Linked DNA regions of Homo sapiens: region 1 is linked to region 2. Evidence: promoter capture Hi-C in human tissues and cell types (Jung and others, 2019). All regions are on one chromosome and are shown on one strand. Each heading gives the region's core, a stretch centred on a gene start or on the middle of the fragment in contact. The rest is flanking DNA. Distances are from core to core; before and after follow the strand shown.

What was found. Contacts are between HindIII fragments. The study calls those that stand out against the background at their distance.
Region 1: a contact is called between the fragment with the promoter of CLEC4G here and the fragment with the promoter of RETN in region 2, in 1 of the 25 tissues and cell types used here (stomach).

The regions. Positions count from the first base shown.
Region 1 is chr19:7,730,860-7,733,559 of GRCh38, forward strand. CLEC4G (C-type lectin domain family 4 member G) reads right to left here and starts at 1,251. Exons shown (of 9, transcript NM_198492.4): 1 at 1,189-1,251; 2 at 802-912; 3 at 407-460; 4 at 167-229. The coding sequence starts at 1,243. RefSeq lists promoters at 1,246-1,852, 1,246-1,558, 1,246-1,509 and a cis regulatory region at 1,316-1,325. The HindIII fragment of the contact is 14,896 bases long and covers 1-2,700 here.
Region 2 is chr19:7,667,038-7,670,319 of GRCh38, forward strand. RETN (resistin) reads left to right here and starts at 2,012. Exons shown (of 4, transcript NM_020415.4): 1 at 2,012-2,084; 2 at 2,280-2,407; 3 at 2,784-2,861; 4 at 3,182-3,282. The coding sequence starts at 2,290. The HindIII fragment of the contact is 23,719 bases long and covers 1-3,282 here.

The DNA of each region.
Region 1 (2,700 bases), core at 1-2,500, 63 kb after region 2:
CTGGGAGCCGCAGGGTGAGAGGGGCGAGGGCGGCGAGGATGGGGCGGGACTTCGGAGACCAGCCCCCGCCCCGCACCACCCGCCGCAGGCCTCCGCCCCGGCCCCCCTCCCATCGCGGCCGCAAGACCCCATCCCTGCGCCCACAGCCTCGACCGCGCCCCCTCACAGCAGCTGTGGCAGTCTCCGACCTCCTCCTTCAGGGCACCCAGCGCCGCCGTCTGCTTCGAGGCTGGAACGACCCCCGCCCCAAAATGCATGCCCCTCGGGTCACTTGGGAGGACTCAGGGGACCCCCTTCCAGCCTCAGGGACCATAGGGCCCCCACGCACTCGAGACTCCATCTCCGGGGTCTCAGAAACTCCCGCCCCTCACGCCCCGGGGGCCCAGGCGCCCGGCTCTGCACACACCGTTTGTCCTCAGCAGGTCGTGGCCGTCAAGCAGCGCCGCGCGCTCCGTGGAGGCTGAGGAGAGAGGCTCCTGCAGGCGAGGCCGGGAACTCGGGAATCCTCCCCTCGCCCGGGGGGTGCAGCGTCCCCCAACTCGGGAGCACGGAGCGGGCGGGCAGGCATACAGCTCACACGATGTGCACACACGCCGATGGGAGACAAACGCGCGGGGACTCGCGCACATACGAGCACGCCATGTGCACACGCGTGAGTGCACACGGCCCAAAGATGTACACACACTCTGCTCACACTCAGACGCGAACAGGACCCCAGGATGCAGCTGGTGCGCCATGCAGTGGGGGTTTTCTGTCCCCAGGGGGGCCGGATGCAACACCTCCCCATTGAGAGTCACTCACCCTTGGACAATAGGATACTCAGAATCACAGCCCAAAGGACTGTGGTGACCAGGACAGCCAGGGCCAAGAAGAGGGGTCTCCTGCTCCAGTGCACCCAGCGTCCCCAGGGCCCTGGCATAACAAGGACGGCATGCTGGGTCCCCCAGAACTGAGCCCTGGAGGCCTGAGTTACTCCCAGGAAACTGAGATTCAGAGAAGTTAAGTAACTTGCCTATGGTCACACAGCTTCTAAGCGGCAGAGTTGGAATTGGACCCTGGTCCAACTGGCTCTATGGCCTGTGGTGTCTCTCCTGCACCCACAACCCTGGCCTGTCTCGACTCTTCCCTCCCCTCCCCCATCAAACCCCAGACACTGGGGCAGGGATGGGGCAGTCTCCTTGCTCATACCTCCGGGGACCTCCTCGGAGCTGCCGCCCCACTTGCTGTACCTGGTGGTGTCCATGGCGATGCAGGCACCCAGTCCTGGGCAGAGATATAAATTTCACGCCTGTTCTCACTGGACCTACGCACTCCCTTCCTTCCTTCCCATTTTCTTGGCCTTAATTCCTGGCAACGGGAACCCATGGACCAATCACAGGATTGGGCCCTTTCAAGGCTGGGCTGGGCTGGGCTGGAGTGAGGCCGGGCGGTTCCAGCCTCCTGGTTCTGGCCACTGCAGCTCCATCCCCAGGCTGGTGCTGGAGGCTTCTCTTTGGAGCTTAGTCACCATCTCTTATGGGCCTGGGGCTGGAGGCTTCTCTTTGGAGCTTAGTCACCATCTCTTATGGGCCTGGGGCTGGGTTTTATCCCGCGAGGGACACACTGAACCCGACCAAATTGTAACCCCTGCTGGCTCCTGAGAAAGCCCCCTCAGGCATAGCCCCCCAGGCCAGTTCAGGTCCCTTCTCAACTCCCCTGCAGGTGCCTGCAGAGGCTGGGTTTGAACCTGACCTTGATCCAGTCCCTCTGTACCAGAAGGGAACAAACAGTTTTGTTAGGGAGGTAGCCGGCGGAGCTGCAGGACTCTACCACTGTATGGGTTCTAGGTAGCTTCTAGAAGCCTTAGTTTTCCCCACTGTAAAGGAGATAGCGATGGGCCTCTCTCACAAAGATGCTATGATAAAGAAACAAGACAGTCTTGCTGGCTCACACCTGTAATCCCAGCACTTTGGGAGGCCGACATGGAAGGATCACTGAGCCCAGGAGTTCCAGACCAGACCAGCCTGGGCAATATAACAAGACCCTCATTTCTGAAAAAAAAAAAAAAATATATATATATATATATATATGAAAACAAAAATTGAAAAAATAAAAAAATAAAGACAATGAGGTTATACATGTCTACCTAGCACCATTTCAGGCATATCAAAAACACTCAGTGTTCATGCATTCTTTCAACAAACATTGAGCACCTGCCATATGCCAGGCATTGATCTTGGAACTGGGGCCACATCAGAGAGTAAAATAAGCAAATTCCTCTCTTCTTGGAGCTAATATTCTAGAAGTGTGGGGAGACAGACTCCATACTCAACGTAATAAACATAATTGAAAACATAAGTTGTATAGCATAGTAGTTCCCAGCTGGGGGCAATTACGCCCACCAGGGGACATTTGGCTATGTCTGGAGACACTTTTGGTTGTCACAGAATGTGTGTGTGTGTGTGTGTGTGTGTGTGTGTGTGCTCCAGGCATCTAGTGGGTAGAGGCCAGGGATGCTGCGCAAAGCCCTACAATGCCTAAGACATCCCCCATAGCAAAGAATGATCTGACTCCTAATGTCCATAGTGCAAAAGGTGGGAACCGTAGTATACTCTATTCAAAAGTCATAAATGCTATGAAAAAACATTAAGGGAAGAAAAAATCCAGTAGGATAAGTACTTGGCAGGACTGGGATGGGCACTAGGCAGTGGGCAGTGGCTA
Region 2 (3,282 bases), core at 762-3,261:
TGATTCCACTCCTAGGAGGTCCCTAGAGTCATCAGATCCATAGAGGCAGAAAGCAAGATGGAGGGTGCCAGGGGCTGGGGAGAGGGATAGGGAGTGAGTGTTTCATGGGGACAGAGTTTCAGTTTGGAAAGAGGAGAAAGTTCTGGAGATGGACGGCAGTGGTGGCTACATAACAACATGAATGTGCTTATTGCCACAGAATTGTGCTCTGAAAAATGGTTAAAATAGGCTGGGCATGGTGGCTCACACCTGTAATCCCGGCACTTTGGGAGGCTGAGGCGGGTGGATCACTTGAGGTCAGGAATTTGAGACCAGCCTGGCCAACATGGTGAAACCCCATCTCTACTAAAAATACAAAAAATTAGCCGGGCATGGTGGTGCACGCCTGTAATCCCAGCTACTCGGGAGGCTGAGGCAGGAGAATTGCTTGAACCCAGGAGGTGGAGGTTGCAGTGAGCCAAGATTGAGCCACTGTACTCCAGCCTGAGCAACTGAGTGAGACTCTGAAACAAAGAAACAAACAAAAGCAATGGTTAAAATGGAACAAGATGGTGCATACCTGTAGCTTCAGCTACTGGGGAGTCCAAGGTGGGAGGATTACTTGAAGCCAGGAGTCTGACACTAGCTTGGGCAACATAGCAAGACCCCGTCTCAAAAAAAAAAAAAAAAAGGCCGGGCACGGTGGTTCACGCCTGTAATCCCAGCACTTTGGGAGGCCAAGGCGGGCAGATCACAAGGTCAGGGGATCGAGACCATCCTGGCTAACACGGTGAAACTCCATCTCTACTAAAAAAAAAAAAATACAAAAAATTAGCTGGGCGTGGTGGCAGGCGCCTGTAGTCCCAGCTACTTGGGAGGCTGAAGCAGGAGAATGGCGTGAACCCAGGAGGCGGAGCTTGTAGTGAGCCGAGATCGCGCCACTGCACTCCAGCCTGGGCGACAGAGCAAGATTCCGTCTCAAAAAAGAAAAAAGTAAGTTATAATGGTAAGTTGTATGTTATATGTATTTTACCACAAAAAGGCCCGTTGTACTGGAAACAAAGAACAAATAAAAATGTAATAACCATTCCAAGCTCATGGGTGGTCCAAGAAGAAACATGAGCTGGACCTTGGCCCATGAGCAATGGCTTTCCAACTTCTGTTGCAGGTGATGCCATTGATGGAATAAACCATGATTTTTCTTTCTTCTTTTTGAGATGGAGTCTTGCTATGGTGCCCAAGCTAGTCATCCAGGATGGAGTGCAGGGGCACGATCTCAGTGCACTGCAACCTCCACATCCCGGGTTCAAGTGATTCTCCCACCTCAGCCTCCCAAGTAGCTGGGATTACAGGCACACGCCACCACGCCCAGTTAATTTTTGTATGTCTAATGGAGACAGGGTTTCATCATGTTGGCCAGGTTGGTCTCAAGCTCCTGACCTCAAGTGATCCGCCCGCCTTGGCCTCCCAAAGTGCTGGGATTACAGGCGTGAGCCACCGGCCATAAACCATGATTTTATTTACCAGTTCTATTGCTCATGGGCATTTGGGTATGAATGTGGTATGTCATTCTCACCCAGAGACATAATTATTATTACTATTTTAGAGAAGTGGTCTTGCTCTGTTGCCCAGACTGGAGTGCAGTGCTGTGATCATAAGTCACTGTAGCTTCGAACTCCCGGGCTCAAGCAATTCTCTCACGTCAGCCTCCTTAGTAGCTGGGACTACAAGTGCTTGTCCGCACCATGCCTAGCAAGAGGCATTAATTTTGTCATGTTTGCATCAGCCACCCTTGCATGCAAAACTCTGCTTGTCTACCTGTTCCTCAGACCACAGCCCCTGGCATTATCCCTGGGGCACCACCTCCTGACCAGTCTCTGGACATGAAGACGGAGGCCCTGTTGGAAGTGGGAAGGCTCCCTTCCTCCTCCAGCCCTTACTGTCTGCTCAGGGGCTTCCTCTTGGCCCCGGATGTGGGACCGGAGGGTTGGGGGCCCAGGGACTTATTAGCCAAGCCAGGAAGCCCCACCCCAAGAGGCCTCAAAGAAAGAGCTGCGGTGCAGGAATTCGTGTGCCGGATTTGGTTAGCTGAGCCCACCGAGAGGGTAAGTGACAGCTGCTCCTGCGCTTGCCATGGCACCAGCGGGGAGGCTGGGGTCAAGGCTGAGCCTCCATCCCTGTCCCCCACATGGGGGGACAGGGGTCCAGGTCCAGGGGCAGATCCTACTCCCTCCATGGGCCGGATCTTCCCCACAGGGCAGGGCTGATCCAGCTGTGGGTCTCTTGGTTCCCTCTTTCAGCGCCTGCAGGATGAAAGCTCTCTGTCTCCTCCTCCTCCCTGTCCTGGGGCTGTTGGTGTCTAGCAAGACCCTGTGCTCCATGGAAGAAGCCATCAATGAGAGGATCCAGGAGGTCGCCGGCTCCCTAAGTGAGGACCCCCCACTTGGGCAAGCTCCCCAAGGGTCTCAGAGACCTCACTGATCCCTGGCACAGACCTGACTCCAACCCAGCCCCAGCGCTCACCAAATCTCATCCTCAAATCCAACCAGATCATAAATTCAACCCCAACTCCACTCCCAACCCCTCCGACTGTCCCCACCTTATCCACGGCTCCAAACCCAATCCCCGCTCTCACTCCAAACCTTCCCTTACTCCAAAACACCCAACTCAAGACAGGGTCCTGGAGGCCAGTGAGCTCCTATGCCCACAGGGACCTAGCTCCAAACCAACAGGGCTAGGGGAGGATGGGGGAGGGACCGTTTGGTCTCACAGCTCCCCCTGTCTCCTTTCCTCCTGCCCCCCAGTATTTAGGGCAATAAGCAGCATTGGCCTGGAGTGCCAGAGCGTCACCTCCAGGGGGGACCTGGCTACTTGCCCCCGAGGTGAGTGCAGGAGACTGTTGTCCAGGCGCCCATTTCTGTTCCAAGTCCCCTGGGAATGCCCCCTCCCCGCCACGTTCCCCGTGTCCAGCCTCTACTCCCCTAGGATCTTGGTCCTGACTCCCAGCCTTCTCCGCCCACCATCTGGACACTGGTGTCCACCCTCACTCCCTGCCTCCAGTGCCCATTCAGTGGTTGGAGCCTCCAGCCGTCCCCGTCCCCACCCCCGCCCCCCCAACCCCCCTCCGCGCTCCCCACCCCCCTCCCGCTCCCACCCTCAGCCTCCCAGCTCAGAGTCCACGCTCCTGTGTTCCGGGCTGCAGGCTTCGCCGTCACCGGCTGCACTTGTGGCTCCGCCTGTGGCTCGTGGGATGTGCGCGCCGAGACCACATGTCACTGCCAGTGCGCGGGCATGGACTGGACC